3 separate regions of the Homo sapiens genome follow, and regions 1 and 3 are each linked to region 2. The links are contacts of gene promoters, found by promoter capture Hi-C in blood cells and fetal thymus (Javierre and others, 2016). All regions are on one chromosome and are shown on one strand. The core of a region is centred on a gene start or on the middle of the fragment in contact, and the rest is flanking DNA. Distances in the headings are between cores, read along the strand shown. Region 1 overlaps EFHB (EF-hand domain family member B). Region 2 holds the start of SGO1-AS1 (SGO1 antisense RNA 1). Region 3 overlaps EFHB (EF-hand domain family member B).

Region 1 (4,551 bases), core at 1,369-3,868, 300 kb before region 2:
ATGAGGTGTGCTCACAACGAGGTTTCCTCTAACAGTTACTTTTCTAGTTTTAGCAAAGCAGTTGCGCTACCGACTGAATGCATTTGGCCCATCCGCAGGTTACTGGGCTAAGGACTTGCTACGCCCTTATTTACACTGACAACAACAGATCGCGCTTCTGCACTCAATTATCTGCAATTATCAATTACAGGTTTTAAATTTACCCTGGCTTTTAAAGGAATAGGGCACACTTTTTTTTTTTTTTTTTTTTACTATTTCTGTTTTTCTTTCTTTTTCTCTTTGACTCCCTCTTTGTCTCTCTGTCTCTCTCTCTCTCCATCTCTCTCTCTCTCTCTCCGTCTCTCTCTCTCAGCCTTACAAACTTGGGGCCCTGGCAAGGGTGGTGGGGAACGGGTCCCACGTAACTGCCCATGTAGAGAGCTGTGTACCTAAATTGGAAGGGATACCAGGGATAAGACTCCCTGGGTTATAGCCTAGGTGCCTAAGGACGCAGCGTAGCGCCTCCTTAGATCCCTTTGGAGATACAACTTGCTAGAGGAAATGAAAGTCTGAACCATTAGTACCTAGGAGGCAGGGATCAGAGGAAGTAGATTCAGAGGTAAGGAGAATTTTGGGGCTACACTTTCAAGAAAGTCCCAGTCAGGACCCAGGAGGCATGGTTCAGAAGGAAAGGTAGGGGCGCACTGCTGAGTAGAGACTTCTGGCTGTGCCATGATCTCAACCGGCTACTGCCGGGAGTTCGGGACAACAGCTTTCTGCCTCTAGTTGGCCCTCGGCTTCCCCAAGAAAATTGAAAGTGGAAGCTGGCTCCGGGCAGACCAACGTCCCCAGTAGAAGGGTTGGGGGTTGTTAGAAAGCCCTTCCACAGATAGCCTCACACCTGAGTCTTAAGTCCGGTGGCCACTCTAATTGTTTTTAACTGGCCGACAAGTGCCCGGTATTTTCCTCCAGTTCTAAGGAAGGATAGAACAGAATAGCAAGCGAAAGTGGTCCAATATTACTCACCACTTTGGATGTCCCTTCGTGGTCACCAAAATGTTACCGGGGTCCTTGCTCACAGAGCTCCCAAGATGGTGGCGAGCTGCTTCCAAGATGGTGGCAAGCCTCGTATTCTCTGACCTGGGGTTCTTGGCCTCACAGATTCCAACGAATGGAATCTTGGGCCATGCGGTGAGTGTTATAGCTCTATTAGAAGCCGTGGGTCACGGAAGAGAACCGTGGAACCCAGTGACTAGTGTTCAGCTCGATTAGGACGAAACCAGGCACTTAGCCATGCAGGAACAATGGCAACCCTTTAGCATGATCGGGAGTGGCAATGGGAGTCTGGCTGGTTCAGGAGCACAGCGGACACCCTGCCAGATTCAGAGGGATGGGAATCAGCAGCAGGATGGGAGTCAGCGGCGGGTCTGCGACAGTGGCAAACAGCAGTGGTAGACGGCGAGCGAAAGCTTAGCTGGAGCCGTAACAAACATGGACCAGAAGAGTGCAGTTGCAAGATTTAATAAAGTAAAATAGAGTGAAAACAGAGCTCCCATACAAAGGGAGGGGACCCAAAGGGGGTTGCCCCCATGTATCCATATCTTCTAGACAACAAGAGGTGAAGCTTTTAAATGATGTCAGTTCAGCTACCCTAATTTTTATTAAAAGGCTCAAACTTTTAAACAGGGTTTGCCCAGATAAGCAGCACTAGGTCCCTTGCCCCAAAGCCATCCTGCATTCAGGGCAGGGAGCAAACCCCTCAATCAGCTAAACTTAAATTCATGTGGCTCAAGGATCACTTCCATCACCTGTGCCACTTTGATTCTAGCTGGTTTAACTCATAGAAGAAACTTCAACAGGAGGTATGTTTCTGAATCCTAGGCAATTCCGAAACAAGAAGCAATGGAAGCAATTCCTAGGCACAGAATTGAAGGGGTGCACTTGAAAAGAATATTGACAATAGACTGCTAAATAGCACCTGCACTCTATTCAGTCCCTAGCACCTCAAAGAATAATGAAAAGTATAGAATAGGCTGAGTAGGGAAGACAGATACTTCATAATAAAAAGTAATGACCAGCCAGGCACAGTGGTTCACACCTGTAATCCCACCACTTTGGGAGGCCAAAGCGATGGATCACCTGAGGTCAGGAGTTCAAGACCAACCTGGCCAATATGGTGAAACCCCATATCTACGAAAAATACAAAAAATTAGCCTGCCATGGTGGCACACACCTGTAATCCCAGCTACTTGGGAGGCTGAAGCACAAGAATCGCTTGAACCTGGGAGGCAGAGGTTCCAGTGAGCTGAGATCGTGCCTCTGCACTCCAGCCAGGGTGACAGAGACTCCATCTCAAAAAAAAAAGGAAAGACTGGGCTTCCGTCCAAAATTTCTAAATTGCATGAAGGAAATAATGTTTCAAATGTCGTGCTCCAATAAGAGAAGACAGTATACATAAAGTAGATTTTTAGGCCAGATATAGTAAATGCATAGTATCAAAATTAACTTCATTTCTTCCAAATTAGTTTAAGTCCATAGGTCATAAATTCTAGCTAATGTACACATATGAGCACCCTGGTAAGTTTCAAATCAAGGTTTTCTCCATTTCTCTCCTTCACTCAGATATCACATAATTTCTTCTATGGCTTCGGTGACATACAGATACTGGGTTGTAGAAACACAATTTTCACTGAGAAAATTGCTCTGAGATAACTGCTCTCAGAGCTAAGAATTGGCTTATTTCCTAAATTTGGTGGGAGCTATGAAATCTTGTATGCCTTGTTACATCTTTGACTTCCTAAAATTGAAGCTCAGCCCGCTGAGTCACTTCAGTTAAGTGACTATGAGTTTAAGAGCCAGGATGGACCTATGGTCTTCCCAGTGAGAAGCAGCTCAAGACGCAGCTGCTTAAAGGAAACACACCTCTCCCCAGGTCTTCCAAACACCTTGGCTGAAACTAGGCAGAAGCAGAAAAAAGGGAGAGAGAATTTCCTTGGATTTTTAACTCACTGGACACTAGATAATTTGATTTCAGTCTTGAATTACTTTGAATTTTATCTTCAGATTTTAACTGGCAAGGAAATTTAACATTTGGGTATTATTTATTCCTGTGAATTTGACACTAGAAAGTTTATTCAAATTTTATCATCTTCATGTTTATCATCTTTATGTTGGCATTTTATTACCAGAGTATCTCAATGCTATTATTTATTCTCATTGTAGAATTCTCATTGTAGAATCCCTTATACGCTATGTTGGACCACATGACTGGGCATAAGTTGGAATGAGAAATAGAATAAAATGATAACTTTTTTATTTGTCAATGGAGTTTCCTTGACATTGAAAACGTACAGTTCTGACCCATTTTATAGGCTACCAGGGACAAAATATAAAGAACCCACCAGTGGTAGGAGGAGGATACACAAAGGAACCTCAATTGGTACTTTTAGAGTAGATTTAGGAAAGTGAATCAGGACCATCCTGAAAGATGGCTTATCTCCTCCCTTAAGGGCAACGGCCCCATGCCTGCTTGACCATAGTTTGATGACTTAAGCCAAACGTGTTAAGAAAGCATGAGTTTAGAGATCATTTGGAAAAGATTGCTTATTCCCCAAACCTTATAATGTTTTCTTTTGTCTTGTTTTTGCTGTCTTAAAAGCTTTCAATTTGTGGTTTTTAATATATGGAAAGAGCTCCTCTAGCTGTATTCTTCATTTGTTCTTTTAAAGAATTAATTTTTAAAAGACAAGTAATTTTTTAATAGAAAAGGAAATGTAAGGAAGTCAAGATCGCTTTTTTTTTTTCTTAAAATTTTTCACCTGTAGCGGGCGCGGTGGCTCACACCTGTAATCCCAGCACTTTGGGAGGCTGAGGCAGGCAGATCACAAGGTCAGTAGATCGAGACCAGCCTGGCTAATATGGTGAAACTCCGTCTCTACGAAAAATTAGCCTGACATGGTGGCACGCGCCTGTAGTCCCAGCTACTCAGGAGGCTGAGGCAGGAGAATCGCTTCAACCCAGGAGGCAGAGGTTGCAGTGAGCCAACACTGCGCCACTGCACTCCAGTCTGGGTGACAGAGTGAGACTCCATCTCAAAAAAAAAAAAAATTCACCTGTAGTTCCATGCACAAGATCTAGCTTTTAGTCCACTACATAAACATGAATCTCCTTACTCTTGGTGTGTTACTACATTTTGATCACCTGTGACAGAAATTGCAGTTCAAATTGGCTTAACCAACAAAGAAAATTAAACTTGGCATCACAAATCACACTATGAATTCAGACGGCCAACTAAAATATATGGAATTCTTAGGCCTACAAAACTTCTAATATCATTCTGAACTGTCTTTGCTGAGGCTGAATGTTAACTCTTCAATCACTTGTCAAGCTCTTAGGTGCTTTATGGAAAACAATAAATTTTAAAATCCAAAATCTAATTTATTAGCAACACATACAGGCATATGAGTCTTACCACTGTGAACTCTAACATAATATCTAAAACCAGAATGGATTCAACATTTTAGATAAACACAGAGTTAATAATTCTTTTGCTTGAATGAATGAAGTCCAAAA
Region 2 (2,534 bases), core at 35-2,534:
TTTTCTGGACATTTTTAAATGTACACAAAGATGGCAATAACAGTATAATAAACTCTGAGTTACCCAGGTCCAATAATTATCAACACTTTGACAATCATGTTTGATTTATTCTAACATCATTATAGCATTTTTGCTTTTTTTTTTTTTGAGACTGAGTTTCGCTCTTGTTGCCTAGGCTGGAGCGCAATGGCATGGTCTCGGCTCACTGCAACCTCTGTTTCCTGGGTACAAGCAATTCTTTTTCTCCTGCCTCAGCCTCCCGAGTAGCTGGGATTACCGGCACATACCACCAGGCCTGGCTCATTTTTTTGTATTTTTAGTAGAGATGGGGTTTCACCATGTTGGCCAGGCTGGTCTTGGACTCCTGACCTCAGGTGATCCGCCCACCTCAGCCTCCCAAAGTGCTGGGATTACAGGCGTGAGCCAACCCGCCCGGCTTACAGCATATTTTTAAAAAAGATACTTGCCTGCTACCACTGACTAACTGGCCGATTTAGAAAGTTGGTTTGGTTTTTAAGGTTTTAATCTCCTTACAAACAAAATAAGCATCATAACACCTATACTTCACAGAATTGTTCTGAGGATCAAATAAAATGATGTGACAATATTTTGAAAATGATACAACTTGACTATAAATGTTAGTTTTACTTGTATTAACTAAAATTGCCAAATGAGAATCTTTGTGGACAGGTGTAGGTTGTATTACGAACATTTGAACTATGCCTACTTTTGATCTAATAAAATATTTTCTGAGCCAGTTTTTAGAGATGTCGTACAAAAGAATACTAAGCCTATCAATTGAGGAAATCTTCACTAACTAGAAGATTATTTTAAATCACGGTTCCTGTCAAATTTAATATAAAACAAGGCCATTAAAATAACAAGTCACTGGATTCAAATTTGATTTCACTTTCAAGGGGATACTTCAGTTAAGTGTATAAAAGCTACTTCAATTCAACCTAAGTCTACAAAAAAGTCCCTCTGTCCCCTTGGGAGTCCTAATTTACTGAAAATAAAAATTCTGTCTCCATAACAAGCAATCTCTGAATTAGGTCAGAGCAATACAACTGTGATTTCCACACCCAGCCCCCCACTGTTTAATCAGACCATAACTTCCACCAAAGAGAGACAGATGGTAAGTCTCCAACCTCCACCAGAGAAACAGATGGTAAGTATAGTATATAAGCATCAGGAGTGATCATTTATCACGAACATTAAAAATACAGGTAAACAAGTAGATCACTTACTGGTAGGAGTTTTTGTTGGCTTAGAACCCTCCGTCTCTTTTTCATCTGTGTATTTCAGTGCTCTTTTAGCTAGAGGCCTGGTGACTGGTCTATCTGAATTGCTCGTGGGATTCTGAATGTACTTGCAAGTGGGCAAATAGAGGTCATCGGAATCATCTCCTGAACCACTTGATTCACAGAGGCTCACTTCAGACTCGTTGTTTTCTTCTCTATTAGAGTCATTGCTCACTTTTTGTCGGAAAGGAGTAAGATGAACACCCTCTTCCAAATTAAAATTGTAAGCATCATTGGAACTGACAGATTTGTGCATTTTTTTTTGGGGAACAGTTTTTTTATTTTCGCTTTTATTCTCTTTATATTTTGACATACGTTTTGATTTTCTCCTGTTAGCTTTTCTTTTCTCTTCTCTTTTTCTTTCTTGTGTATCTCTTTGCTTACTTTTAGTTTGTTCAGATTTAGATTCTAAAATGTCTTCTTTTGTTTTAGTAAACGTTCCTGGCTGAATCAGCTTTGGTGATAAGTTAACTTGGTCCTTGCTCCATTGACAAGCATTGTGTTGTACATTTTCAGGTATGTGCATGTTTACTAGTGGGTCTAAAAATCCAACTCTTTCGAATTCAAAAGACTTCCCTGCCAAATGACTGGTTTCAAAATCATCCAAGCTATCAAACTGACATATACTGTTACAATGTTTCTTTAAACTGCTACGAACAGATACAGTTCTAGGTAAGACATTATCAGTAGACTTAGCTTCACCTGAATCAAAATCAACTCCCAGTGTGTCTTGAGGAATAGTAGGTATCTGATCTGAGAATTTAAAAAATAAATGAGAAAAGTAGTTTTACTTTGTGGAAATTTGAATTTCAAGAACTTTAGAATTCAAACTAAAAAAGTGAATGACCAAAAGGTCATTCTGTAGTTTTCCTACATTATAAAATCTGTAAATAAAAACCTGGGAACTTAAATATTACCATCTATTTACTTGTCAGTGATCAACTGATGGCTTATATCTGACATGTGAAAGAATCTTGTACAGGTTCAGTATCCCTAATCTGAAAATCTGAAATCCAAAACTTTTTTAGTGCAGTCATGATGCTCCAAGGAAATGCTAACTGGAGGGTTTTGGATTTCAGATTTTCAAATTAGGGATGATGAACTGATATAATGTAAATACTCCAAAATTTAAAAAATAAATCCAAAACACTTCTGGTCCCAAGCATTTTGGATAAGGGACATTCAATCTTTATAATCTTTAAAAACATTATAGGCCAGGCACGGTGGCTTACG
Region 3 (4,434 bases), core at 564-3,063, 280 kb before region 2:
ATTGCTAAGAACATCTGTCATGAATTACATAGTCTATGATAGCTAGGAGCAAAAATCCCTGATTGCAACTCTGAGTTTATCATAGTACTTGGGCCTCACTCTACTTCAGTGTTGTGTTACATATGTTCAACAACTGACTTTTTGGCAGTGTGGTGGAAAAAAGCCCTGATTTGTAGCAGGTGCTGCTTTCCATGGTGTTCATACTCTCATCATGGTAATTTCTAGCTACCATTGTGATGTCAACTGGCTTGTAAGCTTGCTGCAAATTTAACAGTATGCTCTCTCAAGCCAACTCTAGCACACTACTGCTACCCAATGTGTAACTCTCCCTCTAGATTTTCCATTCCCTAAATGGAATGTCTACACATTATCTGGAATAATGCTTGATGTATTATGATTACTCAATAAATAGCAGAATTAATTTCATAAGCCAAGAAGATTCATTTAGAAAATCATAGTTTATTTGCTCTGTTGTGTTTGTGTTTTGTTTTTCCATTAAATTAAATGTGGCATCCAATAATATAAGATTTAAATAATCAAAAATTAACCTACAGCTGTACTAGACCCACATCTTATTACCCTCTCAGAAAAAAAGCTCCTTACGGTGACTGAATGCTACATTGTGCATATTGAGTTAACTATTAAAAGGTATATCAAGGCCAGGCGCGGTGGTTCATACCTGTAATCCCAACACTGGGAGGCCGAGGCAGGTGGATGACCTGAGGTCAGGAGTTCAAGACCAGCCTGGCCAACATGGTGAAACCCCGTCTCTACTAAAAATACGAAAATTAGGGTGTGGTGGCAGGTGCCTGTAATCCCAGCTACTTGGGAGGCTGAGGCAGGAGAATCGCTTGAACCTAGGAGGCGGAGGTTGCAGTGAGCCAAGATCACGCCATTGCACTCCAGCCTGGGGGACAAGAGCAAGACTTTGTCTCAAAAAATATATATATGTATATATAAAAATATATAGTTTTTATATATAAATGTTTATATCTATATATTATAAATAATATATAAATATATACATAATTTATATTTATATATCAACATATATTTATATATAAGCATATATGTATATGTAAGGCATATCAGCATTAAATAATTCTCAGTAATTTCCTCCCTGCTTAATTTATCATAAGGAATATGCTTGGGCCAGGCGCGGTGGCTCAAGCCCGTAATCCCAGCACTTTGGGAGGCCGAGGCGGGTGGGTCACGAGGTCAGGAGATCGAGACCATCCTGGCTAACACGGTGAAACCCCGTCTGTACTAAAAGTACAAAAAAATTAGTCGGGCCTGGTGGCGGGCACCTGTAGTCCCACTACTCGGGAGGCTGAGGCAGGAGAATGGCGTGAACCCGGGAGGCGGAGCTTGCAGTGAGCCGAGATGGCGCCACTGCACTCCAGCCTGGGCGACAGAGCGAGACTCGGTCTCAAAAAAAAAAAAAAGGAATATGCCTGGTGGTTTACTTAGATAATCAACAGCTATTAAGATGATCATCTTTCCTTTAATTACATTTAAAATGAAGAATTCTTAAAAGCAGGGCACTACGTATTATGGCAGGTTCTCTTATTCATGTCACTACCATTATTTATTGAGTTGGCTCCAAGCTTCCTGGTAACCAAAGTAAAAAGGTGTGCATAATCAATACAAAATACATGCTATCCATGAGATAAAAACCAGTCATCAGATACTTAGATGAAGTGCAATTATTTCCTTTGTCAAGACTGAGTTTCTTATAAGGAAGATGCATCTGACAAAAATAAAAGCCTCATGGGCATACTAACAAAAAATATGCCACGTTTCAATGGCAGTTTCTTATAGTGCTCCTCAGCATAAGCTAAAGGCAGTGCAGCTCGGTAAAAGCAATTCTGTGATGGCCTAAAATGAAGCAAGGCAATTATGTAGCCCTAGATTGATCTGATTTTATTCAAAGAATAAAATTTAGAGTAGCTTGAACATTGAATGATCTTACACTCTCAAAACTAAAACCACACCCTGCTCCCCAGGGAAAAGACATTCTAAGCTTGACTTGGACCTAGAATGCAGGTACTCTGTGTACATATTCAGATTTAGGTGTAGATTGTCAAGTCTTCCCCAGGGATCCCCAGTGCTACCCATTGCCCCTTGCTCCCAGCACACTGCAGTTTAATAATCCATAACAGTGGTTCTCAAACTTGAATGTGCATCAGAATCACTAGAGCACTTGCAAAAATTGCTGGGTCCCACCCCAGAGTTCCTGACTCAGTATTTTCTGAAATGGGCCTTGTAATGTGCATTTCTAACAAGTTCCCAAGTGATAGTGATGGTGGTAGTGGAACCACACTTTGACAACCAATAATCTACAAAAGGGGTCAGCAAATGTCTTCTGTTAAGGGGCAAATAGTAAATATTTTAGGTTTTGAAGGCCATACAGTTTTTGTTGCTACTACCTAACTCTGTATTCATACTGCAAAAGCAGCCACAGACAATACTGAAAACAACACAGGCGTGATTGTGTTCCAGTAAAACTTTACTGACACAAACAAACAGTGGGCTGGATTTGGCCCACAGGCTATAGTTTGCTGACCCCTGATCTACACCAAACTGCTGGGATCTGTAAGCCCATGCATTACCAAAAAGCTCTCCCCCATTACTGGCCTTGTCATAGTGCCTGAAGGCTGCCAGCAAAGTGTCAAACTTTTGGTAATTAACTTTCTTCAGGTGATGCCGAACTGCTGCAATCAGGGCTCGCTGTCTATCCTTGCCTCGAAGATATTCATCCGGAAGTCTATTATGGATGAGATCACCAACTCCTATTGAAGAGAGAAAAAACTTTTTACATAAATTTAAAGTCTTTCTATATTATTTCTATCTTTTAAAAAAAGTGAGAGATCTAGCAACCTCTGTGAATGAAAGAAACATCTAACTCTGACATGATTATGCAGCATGTCAGAAAATCCTTATGTACTCTAAAGTACATAAATTAATTGATAAAAATTAATATTCCTGGTTTATGTTACCTCTCTGCTCAAGAAGAAAATCTAAAAGAATGAATTTTGTGTGGACATCACCAACCGCACTCAACTGTCAAGTCTTTTCCCTGGACAGTGAAGTTCTTGCTTGACTACCTCTTGGCCATTTGTCTACAGTGCTGAGGATCTGAAAGCTAGGGCTGATTCCAGGTGGGGACCACTCAGTGTGCCTTGGAACTGACTAAACTGGGAGAGCCTTGTAAAAATTAAATTATCTACCCTCTCCTATGTGAGTTTCCAGTTGGCCGTCAGTCTGCATACCAACTTCCCATTTCTCAGCCTTGCTTCCACTCATGCCACCACCAGCACTAGAGGCCTGCCTCCCTTCACGGCTCCATTAACTAAGAGTCCTGACCCACACCCCAACTAGAGTTGACCATGCTGCTCCAGATGTGGCGGCTCGGTGGATATCGCCAGAGGAGACCTCCTGCCTCTCTTCATTTTCCCTGGCGTACACACATCTCCCATCTTTCTGCCAGGACTCTCAGCTTTCTCTTCCTTTTTTAATTCATCAATTCATGCTATAAATATTGATGAAAGATGTCCTATGTGCTGGACCCTGAGGATCCAACAGACAGCAAGACAGAGCACCCACCAGCATGAAGCTTGCCCTCAAACAGGCAGAATTTACCATGATTACCTACTTCTTTTTCAAGCTAATTGATGGTTTCCTAATCATCCCTTACCCTCTTCAAAAGATATTAAAGCCTCTAAGATGGATAGGCATCCATCAAACATTAGTAGTTTGTGTAAAAACAGAACCCAAATACAATTTCCTAATGTAGTAATTAATGATGCTCCAAACCACTGTCTTGCATAAGCTCAATAAATATTTATTCTACCTGTCAATGAGTTGACTTTAGCCAAAACATTTTTCATAGTGGTTCTTAAACGTTAGTGTATATAAGAACCTACTGAATCAGAATATCTAGGGCATGGGTCCCAGGAAGGTGCAGATTTAATAAACTCCCTGGATGATTTTAATGCAGGTAGTCTGCAGCCCATGTTTTGAAAACCACTGATATACAGCCCAATCCTGATAAGCTGTAGCATATTTTTCCCTTTGGATATCTGCTGTTTAGATTGGCTAGAAATAAAGACAAAATCCAAGTAAGTTTCTTCTGCTACTTTATGTATTGATTGATTGATCAACTTACTGGCTAGCTGGCTGGCTGGTAGGAAAAGAGTGGTTCTTAATTATGTGGTTGTAGAGTACAGTGCTTTCTCATATTTGAATGTGCTTAAAATTCACCTGGAAATATAGTTAAAATGCAGTTTCTGATTCAATAGTTCTGGGATGGGGCCTGAGATTCTGCATTTCTAAGGAGCTCCCAGGGGATGCCAATACTGGCAGTCTGCAGACCACACTTTGAGACGTTAGGACTAGGACAATATCCAAATTAATTAAAAAGCTGCCCCACTT

The links. The method cuts DNA at HindIII sites, captures the fragments that hold promoters and counts their contacts. A CHiCAGO score of 5 or more calls a contact.
Region 1: a contact is called between a fragment that was not itself captured here and the fragment with the promoter of SGO1-AS1 in region 2, in 2 of 17 cell types (neutrophils and erythroblasts). The highest score is 6.2, in neutrophils.
Region 3: a contact is called between a fragment that was not itself captured here and the fragment with the promoter of SGO1-AS1 in region 2, in 1 of 17 cell types (fetal thymus). The highest score is 5.4, in fetal thymus.

The regions. Positions count from the first base shown.
Region 1 is chr3:19,875,077-19,879,627 of GRCh38, forward strand. EFHB (EF-hand domain family member B) reads right to left here. Exons shown (of 13, transcript NM_144715.4): 13 at 4,396-4,551. Among named protein-coding and RNA genes, the nearest start is that of EFHB, 57 kb to the right of the region's middle. The HindIII fragment of the contact is 2,034 bases long and covers 1,602-3,635 here.
Region 2 is chr3:20,173,002-20,175,535 of GRCh38, forward strand. SGO1-AS1 (SGO1 antisense RNA 1) reads left to right here and starts at 1,285. Exons shown (of 4, transcript NR_132785.1): 1 at 1,285-1,524; 2 at 1,734-1,817. It overlaps SGO1 (shugoshin 1), which reads right to left. Exons shown (of 8, transcript NM_001199251.3): 6 at 1,248-2,054. The HindIII fragment of the contact is 5,926 bases long and covers 1-2,534 here.
Region 3 is chr3:19,894,050-19,898,483 of GRCh38, forward strand. It overlaps EFHB (EF-hand domain family member B), which reads right to left. Exons shown (of 13, transcript NM_144715.4): 9 at 2,638-2,792. Among named protein-coding and RNA genes, the nearest start is that of EFHB, 38 kb to the right of the region's middle. The HindIII fragment of the contact is 416 bases long and covers 1,606-2,021 here.